Linked DNA regions of Homo sapiens: regions 1, 2 and 4 are each linked to region 3. Evidence: promoter capture Hi-C in 16 types of primary human blood cells and fetal thymus (Javierre and others, 2016). All regions are on one chromosome and are shown on one strand. Each heading gives the region's core, a stretch centred on a gene start or on the middle of the fragment in contact. The rest is flanking DNA. Distances are from core to core; before and after follow the strand shown.

The links. The method cuts DNA at HindIII sites, captures the fragments that hold promoters and counts their contacts. A CHiCAGO score of 5 or more calls a contact.
Region 1: a fragment that was not itself captured here is called in contact with the fragment with the promoter of NCAM2 in region 3 in 2 of 17 cell types (monocytes and M2 macrophages); the score reaches 5.6 in monocytes.
Region 2: a fragment that was not itself captured here is called in contact with the fragment with the promoter of NCAM2 in region 3 in 9 of 17 cell types (M2 macrophages, M1 macrophages, monocytes and 6 more); the score reaches 16.1 in M2 macrophages.
Region 4: a fragment that was not itself captured here is called in contact with the fragment with the promoter of NCAM2 in region 3 in 1 of 17 cell types (M2 macrophages); the score reaches 5.6 in M2 macrophages.

What each region holds. Positions count from the first base shown.
Region 1 is chr21:22,730,383-22,735,586 of GRCh38, reverse strand. No RefSeq gene overlaps it. Among named protein-coding and RNA genes, the nearest start is that of MIR6130, 350 kb to the left of the region's middle. The HindIII fragment of the contact is 3,960 bases long and covers 600-4,559 here.
Region 2 is chr21:22,769,253-22,774,717 of GRCh38, reverse strand. No RefSeq gene overlaps it. Among named protein-coding and RNA genes, the nearest start is that of MIR6130, 310 kb to the left of the region's middle. The HindIII fragment of the contact is 5,831 bases long and covers 1-5,137 here.
Region 3 is chr21:20,996,402-21,001,453 of GRCh38, reverse strand. NCAM2 (neural cell adhesion molecule 2) reads right to left here and starts at 3,045. Exons shown (of 18, transcript NM_004540.5): 1 at 2,836-3,045. The coding sequence starts at 2,890. The HindIII fragment of the contact is 4,236 bases long and covers 2,116-5,052 here.
Region 4 is chr21:22,749,887-22,754,791 of GRCh38, reverse strand. No RefSeq gene overlaps it. Among named protein-coding and RNA genes, the nearest start is that of MIR6130, 330 kb to the left of the region's middle. The HindIII fragment of the contact is 1,275 bases long and covers 624-1,898 here.

The DNA.
Region 1 (5,204 bases), core at 1,330-3,829, 1.7 Mb before region 3:
AATGTTAGCTTAATAGAGAAGAATTTAAAAATAGGCATGAGGGAGAGTGAATGACATGTTCAAGGACTGGACATCTTTGTGTTGTCAAAGCATAATTATAGTGAGAGAATAAAAATTAAATAATTAAATTGTAGAGGATTGTGGTCAGAGAAATGGATATCTCAATGTACTATTTTATAAGTTATATCATTCATGATATTGGCTCTGTTTCTAGGTGCTCAGAATACTCAGAAAGTTTTCTTTCACCTATATTTGATTTCTATTTCAAAAGTGTAAGTTTTCTGTGGGTAGGCTTTCATAAGTGTGTGCAAATTAAAAAGCTGTTCTTTAAACAACGGCTTTTGAAATGTAAGTTTTGAATGTAAGTTCGGTTCAGATTTGTGGCTTTGCAAATTATCATGAATTACTGTTGTGAATAGGACCAACATCTACTGTTTATTTGTATCTCTTTTTTCCTCTCCCTTTTAAAATTTTATTTTCATTTTTCTTTATGTATTTAAGTAAAATAATTAAAATATTTATATGTTTGTAAAATAATGAAGCTTTCATTATTTCTGATAAACTGCAAGTTTAGCAGAACATATGCATATAAGTAAGCTTATACATGAACAAAATGAATGAAACTGTGTTTGTTACTGTGAATGCTAACTATGTTAATACTTTTATGTTTATACTGTTTCTACTTGCTGGGAAGAGTGTCATGTTTTTACACATCGCATGGGTGCTAGCATAACAATATGGTTAATATCTTAAAAATTACGGTCTTCAATATGATTTTATGACTTGTGATAAAAAAATTAAGGAAAATGTATCCATCAAAGTTGTAAACCCTTAGGAAATCACTCAGTAATTAAATTTATTCAAATTCTTAAAACAAAAGCATAAAAGTTGATGGCCCGGGACACGTTATTTAAAGTTAATGTGGATTTTAAAGTAAAGAAAAACTAGTAAAGAAGAGATTAATTAAAAGCTACTACATTTTGAAACCAATTCAAAAGAACTCAAGTGAAATTCATTGCCTGGCATCAGTGAAATGCGTGAAAAGTGGCTGTGAGAATCTTAGAGACACACTCCTCAGTACAGTAAAAAATAATGCATCCTTATAAATGTCATTCATTTCTAGATTTTTATTTGAGTAGTAAAAGAATAGTAGGACAAAAATGTGGCCAATATGTAAAACTTTCCAATAATACGTTGAGAAGCAATGTAGTAGAAATGATAAAGAGCATAGGCTTTGCCAATAGAGAGCTCTTGTTTTAATCCCTAGGTGATTTCATGACAGCTAGGTGAATCTCTGCTTCTTGGTTACTGCATTTGCAAAAGTATAAAATGATATGTGCCTGATGCTCAAAGTAGTTTATGTAAATGAAGTTCTGTTCGTGAAGTATTTGACAAATGGTATCTTATGCCCATAAATGGTAGGAAACAAGCTCAGTTTAAATACAAAAAATAAAAGCCATTATTTTATCTTAAGCCTTTTCTATTATCAGGAAGTATATTTCATAATAAGCAAATAATTCATATGTGAGAAAAAATGAGTTGATTAGGTATTCTATTGTAGTTATTTATATATTCTAATATCACTTTTAATCTTGCTTCCAATGAGCTCTACAACTTTAAGATATTTTTTATTTCCTTGGGCATGGTGTCCCATTTCTGTTGATTCAAAGTTGTATAAATGTAAGCATCAATTCTATGAACATTTCAGGAAAATTTCTGCAAACAGATTTTACACATATATAGACACTTATTTTAATAAACATTGAATGCTTACTGCCTTTAGTGCATAGAATCTATTGGTTAGAATAAAAATAAATATGAATTACTAGAACAGGAAAGATGGCATATTGAAGTTGTAGCACAACTTCATTAAAAGAAAAATAAAAGCAGATATCAATGCATCACAATTGAAAGGTATAACATGAGATAGAAACTGAGAAATTAACAAAGTTTGGGTATCACAGCTTGAAAAAAAAACATAAATAGGGGAGAAGAAGCACAGGATAACTGATCACATTGTCCTAGAAGTTTAGAACCTCATAAGGAAGATTCATCAACACCTGCTTAACAGAATTCAGTATCTTCTAAACTACAGTTATTTGGTCTAGATTAAAAAGTATCTGTCTATCTATCTATCTGTCTATCTATCTATCTATCTATCTATCTCTATGTATCTGTCTACCTAGATATATCATATGATTTAAATATAATTAAAATTATGAACCATATTTTAAAATAACCTTTGTAATAGTAAATGTTAGTTTTTGCAGGCATGGCCACAGAGACCATCATATCTCTAGCTCAGATGTACAGCCTTCATACATACAAATATTATTATTTAATGTTGCAGATCAGGTTCCCTGGAAACATAAGTTTGAAGGAAATTTACTAGGGAATGACCTTATGATCAATATTTGTGAGAGAAAATAACAGAAGTATAACTGGGCAGAAGAAAAGTAGTGCTACATTTTAATTATAGCAAGACCTTTGTAAAACCATAGGAGTACTCAGGAGCTGGGATATCCCTTCATATATTTTGTTTGTCAGAGAGATTCATTTGGGCTTTTAAAACTACATATCCACCAGTAATTGGATGAAAGCTGCTTTTCAGAAATGAGACATGAATTTAGGTCTGATAGAGGACAATCCCAGAAGCTCAGGGGTTAGTTTCTGCAGTTTTGGAGGGAGGATTTAGGCAGTGTAATGCAGCACAAGTGAGAGGCTGAATATAAATAAATAGTAAGATGGTATATCACAATGAAATTCTTTTATTTTTTTTTTGAGATGGAGTCACTCTGTCACCCGGGCTGAAGTTCAGTGGCATGATCCCAGTTCACTGCAACCTCTGCCTCCTGGGTTCAAGCAACTCTCCTGCCTCAGCCTCTTGAGTAGCTGGGACTACAGGCATGTACCACCACACCTGGCTAATTTTTTTTTATGTTTCTGGTAGAGACAGCCTCGGCCTCCTGAGTAGCTGGTACTACCAGCATGCGCTATGACACTTGGCTGAATTTTTTTTTTTTAAATTTTGGTAGAGATGGGGTTTCACCATGTTGGCCAGGCTGGTCTTGAACTCCTGACCTCAAGTGATCCGCCCACCTCAGCCTCCTAAAGTACTGACAATTAAATTCTATTTCCCAACCTCTGCAGCAACAAGTTCAGGAAACCAAATCACAACCTGTGCAGCTGTTGGCCTAGAGAGACAGCTGCTATGATTTTAATGTTTTAATGACTGCCATCTCTGTTTTTCATTTGTTTGTTTTCCTCCCACTTTCATCCCTAGACCAAGAAGAGAAAGTCAAATATGCTCCCCAAACCAAACACATAAAATGACCACTTCTGCTTAGCCCACGTTGTTTCTCTGTGCCTGCGTTCTCTCATGAGATAATTCCTGAAGCCTTCCCTTTCTTTTCACTATAAAGTTTTTCTACTCTCTTGCCTGATGTTGACTCTCTGATAAAGGGAAGTGATGGTGACTAACTCCCTTGTTATAGCAACCTCTGAATATATAGACAGACTTTGTTCTTATTTTTGTGGTCTTTTTTTCCACAACCGCTAAAAATTCCAATCAGAGCACACCTAAAACCTTCCCTTTTCCTCACTGTAAAATGTTCCCACACCCTGCCTGCTTTGGAATCTTAGCAAAACACAAGTGATGGAAAATGATTCCCTTGCTGTAAACACTCTGTTAGCATTTCTCTGTCTTCCTTAGAGCACATTTTTTATCTCTATAATTATTCTGATGGCTCAACCAAGATATGATCTGAACTTCTCTTAAATATTACACTATATTGTTTTAATGCCAGAATCAACTCAATTTAGTTCAACTTTGTCAATAACGAAAGTAACAGAATGATGAGTGGTTTTTGTTTGTTTGTTTGTTTGTTTGGAGACGGAGTCTCGCTCTGTCGCCCAGGCTAGAGTGCGGTGGTGCGATCTCAGCTCACTGCAATCTCCGCATCCCAGATTCAAGGTATTCTCCTGCCTCAGCCTCCTGAGTAGCCGGTACTACAGGTGTACACTGCCACACCCAGCTAATTGTTTGTATTTTAGTAGAGACAGGGTTTCACTGTGTTGCCTAGGCTGGTCTTGATCTCCTGAGCTCAGGCAATCCTCCCACCTGGGCCTCCCAAAGTGCTAGGATTACAGGCGTGAGCCACCGCACCTAGCCAGAATGATGAGTTTTATTCAGTGCAATGGATCCCCAGGTTGCAGATCAAGTTACCTGAGCATGCCCAGATGAACCAAACATGCCCAATTTTGACCCCAGGGGCAGCTAGAACAAAAAAGTTAAGCACAGGTGGAACCTAAGATCTTGGATTGAGGAAAGGGGACCAAAGTTAAAAACCAAGGTGTACCCTGTTTTGTTGCAGGAGGTACTTAGGAGCCAAGGCATATTAGAATATGCCTCTTTGCATATTCTAATAGATCATGCCTCATTGCATTTTTCTATCTCTTCCATTGTTACTATCTATAAATTTGCCCCTAGATCCCAGCTGAAGGATAGTGATATGAGCATTGCCTCCTGTCTTGTTGCCAGTTGACTCCACAATAAAGCTTTTTTCTTTTCTTAAAAGCCAACACCATAGTATGGGCTTCCAAGTATTAGGCAGCAAGCCCATTCTTGGTAACATTTTTTGCAACCCAAATGGTACAAAAATCTGCCTGTGGCAATGTAGCCTCTTGAAGTGTTGTAGGCCCCCTTCACTGACAGAATGGCCACCTAGAACAGTTTTATCTAGGGGATTGACTGAGACATCACTGATTCTCTGCTGCGACAGTTCAGGCTCAGCAGTACTACTTTCTTATTTGGGAAAAAGAAAGTGCTTCTGGCTTAGATGTCTTGGGGATGAGTACTTCACTAATATGTGCCTATATCATAAATTGTCAAAGGTTTCATCATAGGAATTTTGGGTTCTAGTCCCACCCTATTGGGATCCTGGTCTGATTAGCATCCTGAATCTGTTTGAGGTTAGATTCCCAAAGAATAAGAGTGATAATAAAATGCTGTAATCACTGAGGTACTCAGGTTGGTTTAATTTTGACTTCTGCTTGTCTGTGTTTGTGTCTTTAGTGTGTGTAACTATATTTGACTTAACAATGGTTAAAACCTTGGTGTTCATAGTAGCGGCCTAATTAAAAAATTATCTAGATGAGGGTCCTTAGACTCCCGAGAGACATTGCTCTGCTCCCCTGGGCCCTTT
Region 2 (5,465 bases), core at 973-3,472, 1.8 Mb before region 3:
TGCAGTGGCGTAATCTTGGCAATTTCTGCCTCCCGCTTCAAGCAATTCTCCTGCCTCAACCTCCCAAGTAGCTGGGGTTATAGGCACCTGCCACTATGCCTAGCTAGTTTTTGTATTTTTTGTAGACACAGGGTTTCACCATGTTGGCCAGGCTGGTCTGGAACTCCTGACCTCAGAGGATCCACCCACCTGAGACTCCCAAAGTGCTGGGATTACAGGCATAAGTCACCACACCCAGCTGAAATCTCCAAATCCTTTTTGGGGAATGATACCTAATCTCTGTAGTTTAACTACTGAGAGTTTCTACAATTTGGCCTTCACTTTGCTTTCCAACCCCATCTTTCCTAAATGTACTATGGATAGATACTTTATGACAAGATAAGTATGAAAAAAATTCTGTTTCTAAGGAATACATTTCTCTTTCACTATTTTCAAAATAGTGGTTCTGATGCTGAACTTTATCCTGAATGCATGCTCACAATTATACATAGATAAAAATCAACCCCTTTTGTTTAATTCTTAATATTCTCCATTTATCCTCCAGATCCAATCTCCACAATCTTTACCCTTGTCCAAACTTTTATGTGCCCCAGTTAGTTAATACTTTAAAGTCTCAATTGCTTACCAATAGCTGTATTTATCTGCTGAAGACCTCAGCTTCTGATAGGCAGTTCTTATATCCAGCACTACACGACAAAAATATAGCTTCCTCTGCTTTTCAAGACTGGAGGTGATGAATGCTTTCTGATGTTACTATTCCTGGATGCCTCAGAATCTTCTCTCTTCTCTTAACTCTTCCCACACATTTGTAAATGATCCTTTTATTTACTCTTTTTAATCCTTGACTGTGCCAACCCTTTGTTTTTAGCATCCTTAGTAATGCAACTGGCAACACTAAGCTCTTTATGAAGCCAGAAGCATCCCACCCGCTGTAATAATATTATCCAGACACTGCCAGTGTTCTCCAGCCAAAAGACCACTAGAAGCACACTTGTATTTAAACAAAGTTGGGCATGGTAGTTCATTGCAAGGAAAATCATAAACCAGAATTATGAGACATCTCACTAAAATTTTAGGAAATACTTATGGAATTTGGGGTTGTGTTTAGTGATTTGGAGGATGGTTCCTGAAAGCAAGATTTTTTTTCCTTTCAGGAAGGAGTAAGGCCAAGATTGTGTATCCTATCCATCAGATCTAGAAAGATGAAAACTTGAAATGAGGTTGAAGTTTTCATTGGAAGAAAGCAGCAGTAAGCTGAGAAATGGAAATGTTTGATAATTTGGGGGTATGATGAGTGACCTTCTTTTTTTTTTTTTTCTCTAGGCTTAGCTTTTTGTCTCCTTTGTAGTACACAATGTGACCTTGTCTAATACTGGTTTTCTGTGAAATTGTTTACTTTCAACTGGAGGTCATCGAAGGATGACTGTGCATGCCAGATAGCTCCTGAGGACACCACAGTCTAGCAGTGAGAGTCAGATCAGTGCCCGGCTACCTGGAGCTGCTTATTCTCTTACCACTTAACCTCTGTAACAACATTCTCTTCATATGTTGATGTTCAGTTCAAACATTGCCCACTTTATTATGACATACAGACTTGATTATAATTTTTTCTTAGACATACTATTTCTTTTGCTGCTCTTTTATACCACAAATTAGCTTTTATGAACATCAACACTTTATATGCTTATCTTGCTCCCCTCAATTAGATGATAAATTCATAAAAATTAGTAACTGATTTTATGTTTTATTTTCCCTTCCAAAAAGCAGTGTTTTATATGCAGCATATATGTGTGTGCACGTGTGTGTATATTAATAAATAAGTTTTAAATTAATACTGATTGTACACATTAAAAAGTTGCAGATGGCTTCAAAAAGAGGGGACGCTGGCCTTTAGTGATGAACATGTTTTTACAAAATGTTCTTGATAACATGAAATATGTAAATTTATTTCTCTCATACACTAAATTGATTAGTGAATTTAGAGAATTAAAAAAAGATGTTTTTCATTTGACTACTACATCTTCCACTATATATTGAATTTCTAAGGATACGATTCTCAATACATTTCTGGAGTAGTACTGCTCAGCCAATATGTTAATTCTTTAATATTTTGATTTTAACAGAATGTAGGCGTGTAGCATCTTATGGAGAATATTGTTCTCTTTAAAATTGTTAAGATAATGAGCCTGAACTAATAAAAATTATACTTAGCATTATGGTGATACTTTCTGCAAAGTATGCAAGTTAATGTTTGCTATTTATAAATATGTACATATGGTTCACAGCATCAGCACCCAATTAAAACCCAAAGGGAAGACACAAATGCATTGGCACTCATGTCTAAATAAGTGCTTAATTATATTTACATGGGTTTCTGTTAATGAAAACTATATCATTCATTCCTTTCTACTTTCATGCCTAAACCATCTTATATGGTTGTCTGTTTTGACTAAGGCTTTCCTAGAGGCAAGTGATTCCAATTGTACTACATAATTTGGTTATAAATATTTTATCCCATTCCATATTACCAAATGTTAGAAATATTACATATTTATTTATAAATTTTGGTTTTGAGCCTCCAGTTTTTTCTTTTGTTCTACACACTAGCTTTAAAGCCTACAAAAGCAGAAAAAGAAATCAGCACTTTTTCTCTTAGAGGACACTATTTTGAGTATGAAAGCAAATAAAAGGCCATGGAAATCAGGTGAGTTTCCTGTTGATTGCTCTGCGATACGAAATTTAATATAATGTTTAAGAGAAAAAATAGAGCCCTATTTGCAAATATGATATGTAATACTCCCAGTGAGTTCTTCCCAAGCTCATTTTCACCTCCAAGCAAAAGGGGAATTAAAAAGCAACACTAGGCCGGGCGCAGTGGCTCACGCCTGTAATCCCAGCACTTTGGGAGGCCGAGGCGGGTGGATCATGAGGTCAGGAGATCGAGACCATCCTGGCTAACAAGGTGAAACCCCGTCTCTACTAAAAATACAAAAAAAAATTAGCCGGGCGCGGTGGCGGGCGCCTGTAGTCCCAGCTACTCGGGAGGCTGAGGCAGGAGAATGGCGTGAACCCGGGAAGCGGAGCTTGCAGTGAGCCGAGATTGCGCCACTGCAGTCCGCAGTCCGACCTGGGCGACAGAGCGAGACTCCGTCTCAAAAAAAAAAAAAAAAAAGCAACACTATTCTCCAAAGTGTGTCCTTCTGAAGGTGGAAAAACGGAGAAGTTCTACATGGGAAATGTTAACACAGGTTCACTATATTAAAGCAAACAGTATATCTGGGCATGTTGTAATAAAAATCCTGGATTAAACATGAATCGACTAGAAATAAATAATATGGCAAATATAAAATCTCATGACAGAAGGGTAAGTAAATTTGAAAAAGAAGGATTAAAAATGTAATACTTTCAAAAATAAGTGACCAAAAAATTCCCTGAAGTGTCTCATATGATAAAATTAGAACCTTTAGCTAACGTGAGCTCAAGACCTCAAAGATGTGATGACTAAGCAGGTAAATGAGTTGAAAATAGAGACTGAAGCGCAATTAGAAACCATGAGGCACACAGAAGTCACTGATAAAAATCTAATCAGGCCAGGCGTGGTGGCTCACATCTGTAATCCCTGCACTTTGGAGGCTGAGGCAGGTGGATCACTTGAGGCCAGGAATTTGAGACCAGCTTGGCCAACATGGGGAAACTCTGTCTCTACTAAAAATACAAAAATTATCTGGGCATGGTGGTGGATGCCTGTAATCCCAGCTACTTGGGAGGCTGCGGCAGGAGAATCGCTTGAAACCCGAGGGGCAGAGGTTTCAGTGAGCCAAGATCACGACACTGCAGTCCAGCCTCGGCGACAGAGTGAGACTCTGTCACACACACACCAAAAAGAAAATCTAATCAATATATGAAGGGGAACTTTTATATTATTATAATTAATGTGGAATAAAAATTAGAAAATAGACTAGGAAATTAGAAAAATAATAAGTAATATGGAAGATAAAATATTATCCAGTATAATAACTTCTATAGAAATAAAATTATTTATTTCTAATAGAAGAAAAACATCAAAAATGAAAGTACATCTTATAGCATACTTTTTTTTTACTTGAAAAAATTCACAAGTATTTACTATCAATCCATGTTAATCTTTAAACTGGATATGAGTGATGAGTTCATTATTAACAGGTTTACACAAAAGGATGAAAAGAGAAGTAGAATTTTGCTGAAATAATTTACAATTCATTAGAAATTTACAATAAGATTAATTACTAAATGTAGGCAGAAGGTGGATCACCTGAGGTCAGGAGTTCGAGACAAGCCTGGCCAACATGGTGAAACCCCCGTCTCTACTAAAAATACAAAAAATTAGCCAGGCATAGTGGCAGGCGCCTGTAATCCCAGCTACTCAGGAGACTGAAGCAGGAGAAATCCGGGAGGCAGGGGTTGAAGTGAGCTGAGATCATGCCATTGCACTCCAGCCTGGGCAATAATAGCAAAAGTCTGTCAAAAAAGAAGGGAAGAGAGAAGGAGAGAGAGAGAGAGAGAGAGAGAGAAAGAAGAGAGAAGAGAGAGAGAAAGGAGAGAATGAGAGAGAGGGAGAGAGAAAGAAAAGAAAAAAAAGAGAGACAAATTCTCAAATATGAAAGAGTGTGTCTCTGGCTGTGGAAAACAGGCATGTTTCCGGCCCTGCGTAAGTCTCAAGCATTGTTCTCTCTAAACTTTTCAGGTGGTTTTCTCTGGATTTTGATAGTTTCCTCACACACACGCACTGATTTCTACTTAACTGAATATTCTGGACGAATCTTTTGAGATCTCTGGATTTTATTTTATCGCAGTTTTCCCTTCTCCTGTACTCTTTTTTATGAACTCTAGCTATCTTGACTTCTTTGAACTTCTAGCTGTGTCTCCTCACTTGGAGTAGATTTCCTGGATTTCCCAGTCCTGTGCCATGGCCTATTAACATTCTCTAAGCAATAAATTGGGGCAGTCATTAGGCTTACCTTGTCCATTTCCCTAGTCGACTGAGACAATGAATTATTACTATCAAGAAAAAATGAGTTGTCAATACACAATGTAGGCAGGGAGAAATACACTTAAAACTCAGAATATAATCAAGGTTACTTCTTACTACTCTAAAGCTTGTGGTAAAATTAATAGAAAATTCAAGAATATATTAAAAGCATGATTGTTAATAACACAAATTCTCCAGGAATAAAGGTGAGAAATCACAATTATTTGACATGCTTGCTGAGAAAAAAGCAGATATGGATTGTGCAGTCGTAAAAAAAAAAGAATTTATACATACCTACCATGAACATCTGAACAGTTTTATATTATTTGTAAATATTAACTGATGCCTTTGAATTGGCTCCCTTTTTAACTGCCAAAAATAAAACATGTTAAATAAAATAATGCTAATAGTAGTTAATCCTATATCTCAATATTTAATTTCAAAATATTAATTTTTA
Region 3 (5,052 bases), core at 1,796-4,295:
AAAAATAATTGCAAAAGTTACAGAATTACAGCATTTTCTTTCATTGACAATTAAATTCAGACTTCACAATAACATTCTAACCTTACTTCATTATACATTAATCTTGCAGTGGAAATTAGAGGCTTTTAAAGGAGTATTTCTGCTACAATAAAAAAAAGCGTCTTACTACTGTACAACAATAAGGTTGTATTGAGAGTTACAAGTAAACTATTAGGCCTTGTTAGCTAATTATAGTATTGGCATTCACTTAAGTTAGTCAGTTTCTCACTTAATGTCATTTTCTCCTATTCAACTGCTTCAGTTCAAAACGTTTTGACTCCTAAAAAGGGAATACATCATTGTTGCCTTTCCTCAGTCTAACTGCACACCACTTTCCAAAGCAATAGCTTCAATCATGCTTCATAAAATCCCCTGCAAGTATACTGTTGGACACATAAATCAGCAAGCTGAGATTTTAGTATTTCTAAGGCAAGACCAGGGATCACTGACTGGTGGCTTTTCCATGGCCCTCTTTACAAGAGAATAAACAAAATCATGAGTTACACTAGGTCTGTTTTTTTAAACAGCTCCCGGTGGTGTGTCTGATACTTGCTGCTGCATCCTTAATTAGAGAACAAAACACTAGCATAGAGGAATTGGACTCCAGGATGAGGATATCTATATCCAAGCATCTCTGACTTCATCAGGACACATGGCATAGAAGTACTATATGTTCCCTTTCACAAAAGCTACGTCTCTCTGATATATATCTGTGTCTCTATGAGTGCCACACATTGTGAAATTGTACTAGATAGAGAGATCTTTACAATGATGGTCTCCTTCTACCCTGTTTCATTACAGTGAATATGGGCTCCCCTTCAGAGATGCTTGTCTCAGAGTGCCTCTTCATAACCACCTCGTATCCTGACTTACAAATTAGCTGAATCACAATTTCACATCTATGTTACATGTACACATCCAAATTTTATGTCTCTGTGTACTATTTAAACCTATATATCTAAACATTTCTAATTTCCTATGTCTCCAAATTCCAACACACTTAGCCTCTACAATGATAAATTCAGATTCCACAACTGAGACATTTTTCTTCTCCAAACCACTCACAATGTAATCCTAAGTCTGCATAAACTTGTTTCCTATTATGCTCCCATTCTGCCCCACACTACCTACACTTATTTAATTGCAGTTGTATTTTAACTGCAATTTTCAGGGATTGTTTCTTGGTGCTCAAAAATACCTGTCTATGCTATAAATGAACAGTTAAACACAATCAGCAGCTATCTGAAAATTAAAGAAGCATATCTGTAGGACATATGTGCATGCTGATCTTTGCTTAAGAACCACTGAATTAACGAATTGGGCTAGTATTAGCTTCAGATGGACATATCTGCAATTTTGCTAAGACTGAAATATTTCATACTCTATGTTAGGAAGGGAAAATGAGCAGAATCTTATCAAGACACTTTACAAACTATAGGAATATCCAACATTTGCATACTGATTTCTGAACATTAAATCTGCATCCAATCGTGTTTCATCCGCCACTAACACTATAGCTGTGGGGAGGAGAAGGGCAGAAAAAGGAAGGCTTCACATCCAAAATGTCAAGCCCTGCTGAAGAATGATAGAAGGACTCTGTGGAAGAGCAGAAACCAACTTCTGGGCTTAAAATGGAGTTCTACCACCCCCTGCTGGACCAAACGAGCAATACAGAAGAGGCTAAAAATGCTTAGAACTGAATATCTTGGGGATATTTTAACTTGTCTTGTAATTTATTATATTATTTTAAAAAACCAATTTCACACTACACTAACAACATAACATTCTTTGCAATCATTACATATCTCAAAATTAGTGCTATTTTATTTTTCCTTTAAAGACTTTCACCAATGCATGTTTTAGCATTTTGTGTCCCTAATTAAACGTCCAAACTTGTCTGGACAGTTGAAAATGCTTCCATTTATTGTAAATATATTTCATGTGAGTGTTTACTATCTAAACAGCCAGATAAATTCATATCTATCTCTCTAGAGACAAACAGTGATAGCTTCCACAAATTCCCTCTCAGGTTATTCTACCAGGCTATTCATTTTTTTTTTTTAAGAGATAAAAGCTTCCACCAGTTCTCCCACAACCCCAAAAATCCTCTACAGGTGTAATTACAATGTAATGTTATAAAATGATTCCACCTTTCTGTATTAATAAGGGGTTGGGGTCAAAATGAATGACTGCAACACATCCCTAGTTTTATCCATTTGCTTTCTTACACACAATATCCACGGCCCCTCTCTTAGTTTCCAACAGAAATAAGCCATCATCATTCACTTCATAGTCAGGAATTAGGGTTTTGGGAAAGGGGTGGAAAAAAAAAAGAGTCTCCAAGAATCGAACGTCTTGCACACAGCAGATATTTTGCAAATGAGTTTAACACTGATAGTTTTTGCTGCTTCTGTAAAACACCATCGTGCCCTTTCCTTCCGCAACCTCAGATATTTCACTGTTAACACACTCATCCAATTTCTGATAATAAAAATAAGAGAAAGCCATAATCCCAGAGGAAAAAAAAAGAAGAAGAAGAAGCGGTTTCCCTGGATATCCTGCTCACCGATTCCCCTCTCCAATTCTGTATTTTCCCTTCTCTTATTTAAGGGTCTCCACACAACAGATACAATTTTAGGGACAGCTAGGAGAAAGAACGAAAATAATAATAACAACAACAGCAATAACTGTAACTTTAGTTCTTTCATTTCATTCTTCCTGCGCCTCCCTCTTTGCCTCTCTTGGCCGGGTGGAAGGGGGAGGGAAAGTAAATGCAATAAAGCGCCACACTCCTACCTTGCCCGCTACTGACAAGCAACCCCAGCAGGTAGAAGGAGAGGAGGAGGCTCATGTTCAGGACGTGACACCGGTGGACAGTTTCAAAGTTATTAAGTCCAGCCCTGGAGAGAGAACCTTTCGCTGCCCCGGCCGCCTCTGCTAGAGCCGCCGCCGCCGCTCCCGCGGTGCCCCAGCCGCCCGCAGCCCGCGCGCTCCTCCTCGCAAAGTGACTGCAAGCTCCGCTCTTGCCGCACTATATCCAGGCAGCGGCGGCGGCAGCGGCGGCAGAAGCAGCAGCAGCAGCGGCCGCCGCGGCGGCAGCAGAGCCGGGCGGGGAGGGCGGCGGGGGCGGGGGCGCGGCGAGGGGAGGTGCGGCCGAGGCGTATCCCTCCGCGCTGCACGGCGGCCGCTCTTCCGCGAGGCGCGCGGTCCCGGGATTCGTCCGCAGTGGAGCTCGAAGTCACGGGTTCGGTCCCCGGTGCCTCCGCCTAGAGGGGCGGCCGCGATCGCGAAGGCGCCACTCGCCCGCCGGCCATCCGCAGGTTCATGCACGCCCTGAGCCGAGAAGGGCGTGGGGATGGGGGCAGCCTGGAGCTCCTTCACAGCCGCCGGCTGCCTCAGGACAGCTGAGCTGATGCTGAGCTGAGCTGAGCTGAGCTGATGCTCATGCAGATGCTGATGCTGATGCTGATGCTGATACTGATACTGCAGGCGACCGCCCCGAGCGCGCCCCGGCTCAACGTGAATGGGGGATCTGGAGGCGGGCGGTGTGCCCCGCAGCTTATTCCTTTTGGGCGTGGGAGGAGGGAGATTCTTGTCTCTCCGTGGACCTCCTTCTCCCTCTCTCGCTCAAACCTGGAGCAGGCTGGCCCCTTGCGCGGCTGTCCCCTTCCCACGCTCCCCACCCCGCCGCGACAGAGGGGAAGCAATTGTACCCTAAAGTCTACACTGTCTGTCTCCTCAGGCGCTAAAGGGTGGGCGGAAAAATAACGTACAGAGTGTTTCCTCTACATCTCGACCCATTGCTGTTGGGAGCGGCACCTTACGGGAGAGACACTGGAGAGGGGACGAGCCGCGGGAGGGGCTGCGTTCAACTCAGCCTTAGCCTCAGCTGTGTCCTTAGAGGCCTGAAGTCTCTCCTGGCCTCACTCCGCGGGCTCTGCCCTCGGTCCCAGTGCGCTGCACTGGCCAGATCCCCGCCAGGAGTGCACCGAGGGAGGACTGCAAATGTGCAAAGATGAGTTGGGTCGCGGGGGGGAGACCTTCCCCAGATCAGTGCCCTACCCCGAACACCCACGTACCCGCGTGTGCGAGTGTAAATTGAAGTGAGGGAGCCGTGGCAAACGCCCGGAACTAACTCTCTGCTCCTTAAGATTGGGGCTTATCGTTATTTCTCCTAGAAGGGTAGGAAAACGTTTGTGAGATTAACGTCACCTCTCCTGCAAGAGCGGTTAAGAGGCAGAATCACCGGCCCGGGTGCGGAGCCCATGTCAATCTGGCCTGGGGTTACCGCGACCTGCAAACGCTGACGATGGGTCCTTTCATCTGCACTTTCTCTCTGGCTCCTTAGAAAACTCAACTGCCTCGCCCCGGCCTCCACAAGGACCCTAGCTCCTTCCTTATCAGTGAGGACATAGAAATAGCGGGGGTTGGAGAGGGGGGAGGTAGAAATGTAGAGCTCAGAATCCAGCCCCAGCCTGGGGATTTCACGCTGAAAAGGGCAGTGCATTGCCTTCAGGGAGGGCAGGGGGCAAGAGTAGACACAGGCTAACATGCATAGGGGAGATACCGTCTGCGATTTGTCCTCCCCAGGCAGAGCGCTTTATACAGATGATTCGTCCACTTGGCATCCTGGGATGGGGTTATCAGGAAGAGAGGAGGGGAAAGGCGGCCCTCAACTCACCATCGCTGAACTGCCTTAAGCAATGGCCCTCTCAGCACCTCACAGCTAGAGAACCTCTTATTTCCTCTTGATCTTATAGCAGACAATATATTTAGAAAGTTATTTTGCCACGGTACCCTTCTCACACCCTTTACTGGTTCTGGAATGCACTAACCACACTTAAGTAAACTCATGGTCAGCTCTTTGCAGGAAAGGGTGGAAGTAGCACATTTATAGATGTGAAAGACCGTGACTCATTTATTTACTCCAATTCTTCATTTCTCTTGGGCATTGATAAATGCTACACAGTAGGCCTTCTGCGTCCACAGTTCTACATCCTCAGATTCTACCAA
Region 4 (4,905 bases), core at 12-2,511, 1.8 Mb before region 3:
TTTTAATTGTTCATGATTTCTTTAAAAGGACTTTTAGAATTTTAGGTCTAATTTTGACAAATTTCCCAAAGTTATTTTATAAATATTTTGTAATACTAACTATATTGTCTATTTAATATTCACAATTTTTATATTTTGAGCAAAATTGTAATCTGGGTACTTACTGAAGAAAACATACAATTTTGTATGTCACTTATAAAATGAGGAGAGATAAAATTTTTATGTATGACCCATTAACACTATATGATGTGTTACTGATTTATATTAAGATTTACATAAAAATGAACTAAGTAACAGAGAGAAAATTTGATAACATTCATTGAAAGATATTATTTGAGTCTAATTCTTTAAAGCACATAGTATTAATCGCTCCATTTACAAAGAGGACTTTACCGATAAAAATGTCTCCACAGAGGCAACATATATAAAAACACTTCTTCTACAGATTTGTAATTGTGCTTTCTGCAGTTTCAAGATGAATCTCTTAGTTTCCCCATCAGCTTTTTCATTTTCTTTTAGAATCAGCTTTTTCATTTTCTCTTAGAATCAGCTTTAATCAATCTTTATGGACCAATATATTGTGAACTTAATGTTCTATTGTCACAGAGGATTATGTGAAAGCTTATTATACATCCATGTTTTCTGTGACAGTCCAGTATATGCTTGATTTCCTGATTTCTTGGCACAGTAATAAATAGCCATTCTTTTACTCTCATCCTGTTTTGTTTGATAAATTACAAGATTACCCCATATAGAAGGAGCCTCAGCAAGTGTTTTTTCATTTAATGTGGTTGTATATTTCAGATATTTCTTTCCTCATCCAAGATCTCAGTCAGGAGCTTCAAAGTGAAGGCTCAGAAATGTCTGAATGCCCATATATATTTATTTATTTATTAAATAATAAATAATGATAAGACAAAAATTATTATTATATATGCAAATAGTGTATTAGTGCATTCTCATGCTGCTTTGAAGAAATACCTAAGACTGGGTAATTTATAAAGAAGAGAGGTTTAATTGACTCTCAGTGCCACATTGCTGGGGAGGCCTCAGGAAACTTACAATCATGGTGGAAGGCACCTCTTTACAGGGTGGCAGGAGAAAAAATGAGTACTGAGAAAAGGGGGAAAAGCTCCTTACAAAACCATCAATTCACTTGAGAAGTCATTCAGTATCACAAGAACAGCATGAGGGTAACTGCCCCCGTGATTTAATTCCCTTTCACTGGGTCCCTCCCACAACACGTGGACACTATTGTAACTGAAATTAAAGATGATGTTTGGGTGGGGATACAGCCAAACTATATCAAATAGCAAGTTACGATACTCTTTAAAAGTTTTTAAAATAATTTCAAGCAGAAAAAGTCAGGACAGTCCAAAAACATGCTGTTATAATATTAAAATATACAAACACATTGTGTCTTTAAAACTGAATTATGAATGTTTCTTGGTTGTTTATTTTATATACAGGATTTTAAACCTCAGGCATAATTGCAGAAATATTTAAACAAAGCAATTTTGATGCTTATACATTGATTTAATTTATATGCTATAATGGTTAATTTTTATTATTTAAAATTATTTGTTCCAGATACTGAATTTTAACAATTTCAGTTCCCATTTGCATTGGCATTAAAGAAGTTAACCTTCCCATTGCTCTGCAATGTCCCAATCACTTGTAAGTTTTCAGTTCATTGTTTCTTCCAATATCTTGCCTACTCAAGTCCTCGTTGCTTTACAGGTCTGATCTTCAATTTGTCTTTCTAGCTCTTTAATATTGTAAAAGCAGCTCCCTCCTGTGTGCAATCTTTGGGTGGATGTTCAGTGGTTTTTCCACCAAGTTTGGAGAAGATTCAAGAGAAAATGAGCCCAATAAAATCAATTCTTTACTCCGAAGCTTCCTACTCATCAGCAACTTGGCCCCTCAGTCTCTGGTTACCTAGGCAGCTATCTTATTTTTTTTTTTTTTTTTTTTTATTATACTCTAAGTTTTAGGGTACATGTGCACATTGTGCAGGTTAGTTACATATGTATACATGTGCCATGCTGGTGCGCTGCACCTACTAATGTGTCATCTAGCATTAGGTATATCTCCCAATGCTATCCCTCCCCCCTCCCCCGACCCCACCACAGTCCCCAGAGTGTGATATTCCCCTTCCTGTGTCCATGTGATCTCATTGTTCAATTCCCATCTATGAGTGAGAATATGCGGTGTTTGGTTTTTTGTTCTTGCGATAGTTTACTGAGAATGATGGTTTCCAATTTCATCCATGTCCCTACAAAGGATATGAACTCATCATTTTTTATGGCTGCATAGTATTCCATGGTGTATATGTGCCACAGCCATCCCATTACTGGGTATATACCCAAATGAGTATAAATCATGCTGCTATAAAGACACATGCACACGTATGTTTATTGCGGCACTATTCACAATAGCAAAGACTTGGAACCAACCCAAATGTCCAACAATGATAGACTGGATTAAGAAAATGTAGCTATCTTATTTTTAAAGAGAGACTATTCTTGAATTTTCATCTGCATTTTTCAGTTGTTCTTGATCTGCTGTGAGTTACTTCATCTTATTCAAAATCAGAACCTAAAACATTTATTCAGTGAAGAAATTATTTTTTCTTCAGAAGCAAAAATGTGGAATTTACAATAAAACCTCTTCAGAGAGGATAAGAGACAATTCTCTCAGTTAAATTGAAAAAAAATTTGGAATGTGTAGATCATTGAACTATTTTAATCATTGTAGTAAAATTTTGGCAGTATTTTATTGCACACTTTTTTCTAATCCAGTATGTTTAATATCTAAACCAGGTATATTTAATTAAGAATATTAGAAATATAAGCTACAAATCTAATTTTCTAATTTAGTATGATAGAAAAATAAAATGTTCTGTTTAATATTTCTTCAAATTGATTTAATACATTGATGCTATGTAAATTACCTTTCAACAAAATGAAAAATATGCTTAAATTATTGAAAAAATACTGTACATGTTTCTAGATAATGAATCTCCCATTACTTTATTTTATTTATTTATTTTTTGCTAAATCAAATTGTGGTTTAAACATTAGATTATGTTTTCAATCACAATAGCATTACTTTCATAATTCTTCAACAAAATGCATTTATGATGCTTTTGGTATGTAGTATGGCCCTTTCAAAATGCTTGTGTATGCCTGCAAATACTTAGTTCCTTGTTTTTATGCTCTTGAGGAGCAGATAATATATTTTTTAGTTGCTGCTTAGCAGTTAACGTAATGTATGGCAAATAAGTTTTCAGAAAGTATATTTTTAGAAAAAAACATTGATGACATACTTCAATTCTTGATTCTCATTGGACAATTATTGATCTCTCAAAAAAGTCCTTTATCATCAGTGTAATATTTTATCACCACATTAATCTTATGTGTTTTTTTAATTATACTTTAAGTTTTAGGGTACATGTGCACAACGTGCAGGTTTGTTACATATGTATACATGTGCCATGTTGGTGTGCTGCATCCATTAACTCGTCATTTAACATTAGGTATATCTCCTCATGCTATCCCTCCCCACCTCCCCACCCCACAACAAGCCCCGGTGTGTGATGTTCTTTACCTCTCTTTGAAGTGTTTTATAAAATATTATTACATATTTATATGCTTGTTTTAGTTTGTTTACCTTATAAATATGCTTTGATATATATGTATAAGCTATAGCAAAGAAGTTATTATGTTATAATTAGATGGATCTTATATTAATAATTATATAGCTGAAAAGGTGTCCTATAAATTGACAAGAAAATATGAGGACTGAAATATGTCTCAGGTTTTGAAATTCCATTGTATATTACATATACTGATATTTCAACACTACATTATTATATTTAGTAATATAAATTTTAAAACCAGTCATTACTTCTATATATACGAAAAATCATTTTTGAATTAGAGGAAAAAAATCATTATGTGTTAACAAATGAGTTTAACACTATACTATGTATCAAATGAAATGAAAATGTTTGGGCAATGATTAAAAATGTTTAACCTTATTTCCTTATTGTTTTCCAAAAACAAGAAAACACTAATTTATTATTTATTGATCTAGTGTTTCTTATATAGAGACCAATTATGTGTTTTAAGTATTAAAAAATAAGATATTTTGATTCCTCCACCTCAAAAGCTGTAATTTTATATAACTATCTGGTACACATGCAGCTTACAGTGTAGAGTAAACCAAACAATTCCCTGTTACTCAATGTGTTGAATTTTACATTCTTAAATTATCTTCTGAGGAAACACAACATTGAATAAGTAAGGAAAATAAAGCATTATCAAATATTAGCAAAAAACACTTTATTTCATAATTTAAAAACAGGAATTTCTTTAAGATTTAATAATCAATGTGTGAGAATTTAGAATAGGTGTCAATATGTCATTACCCTAATTAAATTTTCTTCATCAGTTTTTATTTGTTTATTCATTCACTCTTTTTCAATAAATAATGACACTTATGTGCACAGTACATGATAAGGTTTTTCCAAGTTTGTATGATAAATTAGTAAACCAGTGTAAAAATAAGACTTTATTATGAAAATCATTACCTGAAATGTCTTATGTCCTTCATCAACTTCTGTTATGAGCTTTGTCTTTTTGCACTTAAAATCATTACTATTATTAATATTTGTATGTATAAATTTAAATAGGTCCAGAATTGTGCACCAACATATTTTATAATAGTAATTTTTTATTCAAACAAGTTAACCTTTTTGGTATAATACATTTATTATACTGGCAGATGCAATTTCCAGTTCATTACTTATTTTGATAACAACAGGAAATAAGTGATACAACAAGAGTGTTTTCAAGTCAGTTGTTCAAAATTTTTTACAGGTATTATATATGTTTCAGAATA